2 separate regions of the Homo sapiens genome follow, and region 1 is linked to region 2. The links are contacts of gene promoters, found by promoter capture Hi-C in blood cells and fetal thymus (Javierre and others, 2016). All regions are on one chromosome and are shown on one strand. Each heading gives the region's core, a stretch centred on a gene start or on the middle of the fragment in contact. The rest is flanking DNA. Distances are from core to core; before and after follow the strand shown.

The links. Contacts are between HindIII fragments. The CHiCAGO score rates a contact against its expected background, and 5 or more counts as called.
Region 1: a fragment that was not itself captured here is called in contact with the fragment with the promoter of SORBS2-AS1 in region 2 in 2 of 17 cell types (total B cells and naive B cells); the score reaches 8.8 in total B cells.

What each region holds. Positions count from the first base shown.
Region 1 is chr4:185,040,075-185,043,375 of GRCh38, forward strand. No RefSeq gene overlaps it. Among named protein-coding and RNA genes, the nearest start is that of LINC02436, 10 kb to the right of the region's middle. The HindIII fragment of the contact is 163 bases long and covers 1,367-1,529 here.
Region 2 is chr4:185,586,208-185,589,521 of GRCh38, forward strand. SORBS2-AS1 (SORBS2 antisense RNA 1) reads left to right here and starts at 1,718. Exons shown (of 4, transcript NR_186082.1): 1 at 1,718-1,983; 2 at 2,947-3,022. It overlaps SORBS2 (sorbin and SH3 domain containing 2), which reads right to left. Exons shown (of 27, transcript NM_001395207.1): 27 at 1-1,481. The coding sequence ends at 1,420. RefSeq lists enhancers at 815-2,014, 1,293-1,372. The HindIII fragment of the contact is 692 bases long and covers 1,185-1,876 here.

The DNA.
Region 1 (3,301 bases), core at 198-2,697, 550 kb before region 2:
GCGAGTGAGCGCGTGCACACACACACAAACACACATGCACGCGCCTTCTAATGAGAGGTGAAAATGGACACAATCCATTTTATAATAAAGGACTGACAAACTAACACTTAATCCAGACCTCTGAAGCCACCTCTCAGACTATCCTTACTACCTTAACAGTCCAGCGTAGCCGTGGGTACCCAAGACCCCATCGCTGCTCTTGATTCTTGACCATCTTTCTCATGTGTCCAAACTAAATTCCTAGACAGCTGGCTTAAAACTATAGTGCTTAAGTTTTCCAAACGTGTTTTTAAATATTCAGTGAAATTCTTTTGGAGAACAACTTAAATAGTACTTTAAAAATTAGGTTATAAACCACAGAGTAGTTTTTAAAATACATGAACTATAGACCTTTGTCACTGAGGAGAAAGAATGAGGGGTCCAGGGTCTATATTGTGAGTTTTCGGGACAGGGTAAGAAGTCACTCCCTGTGAGGACAGAGTGGCCACAGAGGAACAGAAGAGTATTTCCTACTGGGGAGAAATCACAAGGGACACTGGTCTTGCTTGCCATGTTGTCCTTTGAGTCTTAACCCGGGACACAGGAATCAATGGTTAGCATTAATGAGTCATCAACAGCTCTCATTCTGAGGCCTAACAGAAAGCTAAGCTGTGAAGCCGTGGATAACCACACACAGGGACTCGGGCTGCTGATGGGCTTGCCAGGGCTAGGGTGGGATGTGAGGTCTTACCTTTGCTCCTCCTCTATCTACAAGTATGTCTGAATCACAGATGAGCGTCTGAGAACGCATCTTGAAACAGCTGTCACCTCTCCTAGAGGGGCTCATTTTTGGCATTGGGAAAACAGATTTTGGTGAGTGGCCGCAATGTCTTACAAATTCCCTGAAGTTCAGGGCCTTTTCTTGGTTTGTGATCAGTGTTTCCCAAAGAATACAGCTCTCTCCTCATGTCACTTCAGGATGACATGAGGATGACCTTTAAAATATTGTGAGTCCTACTTGTAATGGAACAATGAGACGTGGAATCGTGAAAGGAACTAGGATAAATATGTGACTATGTAGAAATAAGCTACTAGCTCTGTTTTATGCCATTGACTTTTCTATGTCTGAACACTTTTTCAAGGACTTTATAGAAAAGCAAATTGAAAAATAATAAAGTGTTTTCAATAAACTCCATCAAATGAATACATGCATAAATTATGCATAATTATAAATTATGATATTTAATTTTCCTTAAAAATTATCTATTTGTTCTCCCAAACTATATTATAATTTATTCGTTAGAAAAGCATATATTTTCAAAGAAAAACTGTAGTAAAGAAGGACAGTACAACATATTACCTTAAAAAAAACTCTTTAAACGATGTAAGCTTTCTTACCTCTTTAAAAGGAAGTACATATATTCCTGGAGGAGGCATCTGAAGTTCCTTTCATCTAGATCTTCAAATTCTTTTTTCTACTGCCTGATAGTGTTTGGAAACCAAATTTTTATTTATCTTAAGTAACTTTTGAAGAAAAAAAGAATAAAGGAAGCTTTACTTATTTTCTAAATACTGATTTAATTCAGTTTTAATAAGAGGAATCTGAGTATTAGGTTCCAATTTTTATGTGAATTACATAAAATATTAAAATTACCAGAAACTCCAAATTACAGTGATCTTGAAGAATTTAGAACAACCCAAGAAGTCAACATAGCTGTAGGATGTATTTCATATCAATATACTGGGCAAAAATTAGATATTATGTGTTCCTTTTTCTGTAATGTTGATCCAACTAAGTGTCACAATGAGTTAAGTAAAGCTAAGTCATGCCAGTTTGCTGGGACTTGATTTCCTCTTCAATAAAATGAGGGGTTTCAGTTAGATGATTCTTAGTTTTCTCCCAAGAGCTAACAATTAGAACTCTGGCCAGGTGCAGTGGCTCAAGCCTGTAATCCCAGCACTTTGGGAGGCAGAGGTGGGCAGATCACTTGAGCCCAGGAGTTCAAGACCAGCCTGGGCAACATGGAGAAACCCCATCTCTACAAAAACACAAAACTTAGCTGGGTGTGGTGGCTTGTGCCTGTAGTCCCAGCTATTTGGAAGGCTGAGGCAGGAGGGTCACTTGCGCCCAGGACGTTGAGCTGCAGTGAGCCATGATGGCACCACTGTGCTCCAGCCTGGGCGACAGAGTGAGATCTTGTCTCAAAAAAAGAAAGAAAGAAAGAAAGAAAAAGTACTCTGGCAACACAAGCATCCACCCCCAGTAGTTCTATTAAACTACATGAAACATAAAGGATCTACATGCTTAAGGGGCCTAGATTGCTCCCTAATTTTAGAACTAGATAGGTCATACCAGTATATAGCTAAGCCCTTCAAAGAATATGGTAGTGAGGGGAGAGCTGATGGAATTTGAAATGTCCCTTGGTGATAGAAACTCACTTGACAGCAACATAAACAAAGACTTAATAAAACAAGTAGTAAATTCACAGGAAGGAAGAGTAGCCCTAAAATTTACAAGTCTAGTAAGTCCCACACTTTCTGGGTTGATGGCTATCTCCTCCTGGCATATAGCTCAGTAACATATACAGTATCTGACAAAGATGGCCTCTGTTAGGCTCTTCTCATGTGCTAGAAGTCCTTATTATTGACCATACCAACCACCAGTAGAATAACAGACACAATGGTAATCCCAGCTATTCATTCCCGCACTGTTGGCTCTCGCCATACACAGGTAAGAGGGCTATGCAGAATGATTCTCCAGTGGTCAGGATTCGGATCCAAGGATGTGCTTGCCAAATTCCCTTGTCATTATGGAACTGAGGTTCAGAAAAGGACTCATAAGTTCAAAGTTGTTGTGGCCTCTGGAAGAGCACAGGGGTCTTTCCCCACTCACCCCCTCCCTTTGGGAGGGATAGGTCGGGACATTGCCTTTCACTCTGGCCCCCAAGGCATTTTATCATTCACTATAAGAGTGGATGAAATATTTATTCTGTTGAGTTAAAAGGTCTTGAAGTAAGTTATGTCTAACTGGGTGTTCACTGATGATGACAAATGTTGAGATGTTGGGTATGCTAAGAAATGATATGACAAATGGGAATACCCTAACCCTTTAGACCACCCGTTTTCAAGAGATTCTGAAGGACAGGTGGACAAGATGATGAAACACAGCAAGTAAACACTTCCAGCAAGAGGAAGGTTCAGCCCTAACTACAAAGCAGGGCTTGTGCAAGCCACACGGGGCTGATGGAATCTCCTTTCACCAAGTTCGGGCAGTGCGAACAGCGGAACCAAAGCGGGTCAGGAGAATGGTTCAGCCTGTTTT
Region 2 (3,314 bases), core at 468-2,967:
GATGAACAGTTCTTATGCAAAGTCATAAGAAATACAAAGCTAGTTTTCGGAGCAGGTGTAATTCAGGCACTGTGAACCATATTAAACCTTCCAGGTCCCAATATCATTTTTTAAATTTCTGCTTCAGGGCAGAAAATAAAACCTGAATGATTTAACATTGCTTCTAAAAAGTGCCTAATTTATTCCTAGGAAATATTTTACACACACCAGGAAAATCAGGCTCAACATATTCCTGTCCTCAAATGTAGCCAGGATTCTGAGTTCCATAGAAGAAAAATAATTATTATAGTAAAAATAATTGTAGTAATCCTAATCCTTGCTAAAACCAACTTTAATACTTGTGATGCTTCTGTACTCTATTTCTATAAAATAATGTGTGAGATTCTATTACATTTCCATAAAATGTACAACATATCATATGGATTATATGTTCTCATACAATCTCAAATGTGTATGTGTACACACAGTGAAATCTTACCTACTAGTATTGCTTACAGATACTTTCAGGTGTCTGTTAGAATAATTCTTTGCACCTCTCACTAACACTGCTTTTACTTACATTTTTTCAGATAAATAAAACACTAAGAGCTCATTGTTCATGATGCTGATCATTACATTTTAATATAAAATAGCGATGCAACTTTACAACACAATAGTTTTCCCCTGTAGCCTAGCTCAGCCTCTTGTATTGTCATGATTATTACCGAAGGCTTTTATTTACTTACTGTTTGCACTTCTAAAAAATGCAAACAAATTGCAGAAAAAGACTCCTATTTGAAAACTCACATTCAATCAGCAAAATCACACTCATCCAAATTAACTCGCCTCCTCTTGCTTTAAAGGTTGTAATCACTGTGCATATTACAACATGTATGTGCAGGCAAACAATAGCTAAAGTACAGTTACAGTTGTCATATTGTGTAAACCAAGACACTAGGCAAACTTGTGAAAAGAATACACACTGCCAAGCGAAGAATATGAAAATGCAAACCACAGCATTCCCCAATAAACAATTTTCTGGTCGTCTTGGGGGAGAACATCGCCTGGGGGGAGATGTTGAAATGGAGCCACGAGGCTGGACAGCCTCCTGGAGACACTTTTTTTTTTTTTTTTTGCCTCAAATATTTGACCATTTTTAAATATCATGATTTTTTTCTTTCTGATCCCACATTTTGACGTGTCAAAGCTTAGAGCAGGAAGTAGGAATCCACACTTTCACGGAGGGGGACCAGCCTGCCATGTCGTCCCCAGGCTCACAGCAGCGGCGGCTACTCTGCTGGTGGTTTGGTGGCAGGTGGAGATGGTGACGGCGCATTGGAAACCGTAAGGCATGACAACGGGAGGCCCGCGGGGTGTTTCAGGCGCGTTGACGCAGGTGCATGGCTGGCAGGCGGCCTCTACAGAAGGAGGGAGCGCAATTCACAGCCTCTTGACGTAGTTTCCGGGGAAAGTACCAAAGAATTTGGTTCTTCTTGAGGTCCCTGAAAATAGAAGCGAGTCATGAAAGGGGGGTGACAACGATATCAGTTCATACACATGGGCTTGAATACTTCCCATTTACAAGGCCTCGGAAGACAGCAAGCCCCGAGGGGTTTGGAAAAGAAGGCAGGCAACTCACATGAAGCCCATAGGCAGACAAAATAAGCAGTGTTAGCTGGTTGCCTGACGCTCTCACTGCCCCTCCGGCATAAATGCTGCGCTGCCATCGCGGCAGGCTAAACAGAAATGCTGAGCCTCCCAAGCTAAAGGGAAAGTCAGCCCTGCTGAGGAGGGGGGCGGAGGAGCTCAGTCACTGAGGCTGCCACACCAGAGTCGGGGGTGAGGGATCAAGGCGAGGCTGACAGGTGACAGGGTGAGTGGAAAATCCTAAGAGCAAAGCTTCTCAGGGACCAGCAACCCGCGCAACACAGGTGCGACATGAAGACATCATCTGTGGCAGGCTGTCGCTGTTCCAACAGTTTTATCATCTTACAGAAGATCATGGTCAGTGCCACATCATTTATTTAAAAACAGCACTGCCAGAGTCCTTCATCGAGTATACAATTTTTCAACAATTTACAAATCATTAATGAAAAAAAGGATTAAGCACTATTTGTGTGTGGGAGTTCTATCAGTGGCATGATTTTTAACATGGTGTGTGTTTAACCACACGCACAAATGGCTATCATAATTATGTTCGCCTCTGGTTTCAAATAATGTAATTCCTTGGACACTTCTTGTAAAAGTTGGTGCACTAAATTGCTAAATTCTTCTTTAGGCAGCGCAGATGGACCGGATAAGGGTCTCTCAAGCTTCATCTGTCTCCTATATCCTGGCACTTACTGCCTTGGTTTGATGGCTGTTTTTCTTTTTCCTTGGCTAGGCAAGCCATTTTACGTTTCTCCTCCCTCCTCCTCCTCCCTCCTCCTCCTCCTCCTTGTTTTTGAGATGGAGTTTCGCTCTTGTCGCCCAGGCTGGAGTGCAGTGGCATGATCTCGGCTCACTGCAACCTCTGCCTCTTGGGTTCAAGCAATTCTCCTGCCTTAGCCTCCTGAGTGGCTGGGATTACAGGCACCTGCCACCAAGCCCAGCTGATTATTGTACTTTTGGTAGATACGGGGTTTCACCATGTTGACCAGGCTGGCCTCGAACTCCTGGCCTCAGGTAATCCACCCGCCTCGGCCTCCCAAAGTGCTAGAATTACAGGCATGAGCCACCGCACCCGGCCTTTTTTTCTTCTTTTAATGGAAATAAAATCAGAGGCTTGTGGCCGCACCAGGGCCTCAATTCTTTCATGATTTTGCCACCGATGGATGTCTAGAGTGAGCCCTCCTCTCCTCTCACCTTTCCTCTCTTCCATTCTCTGCCCTGCAGCCTGTGTTTCCTTTTCACCTCTTTCTGTGGCCCAGTGTAAAATACTTTTGTCTACAAATGTTTTCCCAGAAGACCTCTCGTCTTTTTTTTTAGGATGGTAAAGATGAAGTTGCCTTTTAAGTGGGAAGAATGGAACGTCTCTCTGCTTCCACCACAAACTAAAGTTAAGGTGAGTCACTGAATGTTCGGGCATCTACGTCAGACCTAGGAAACGGGAGAGCTGTTCACTTAATCTCACTCCCTCTGAAATTAGATTCTCACTGTGGACAACTAACATTTTCCACAGCACAGAGCGTTGATATTTCTCTTCTGGGGACCATTTGTTGTTGTTGTTCTTAGATCTCAATCTTTCCTGGTTTTTGCTATTTAAAGAAATTGTCTTCTCTCAGTTGAGTTGGAAATAAAGCTCGCAGAAAATCACACATAGCTGAAGCAGTGAATACTAAACTATATTAAAAATG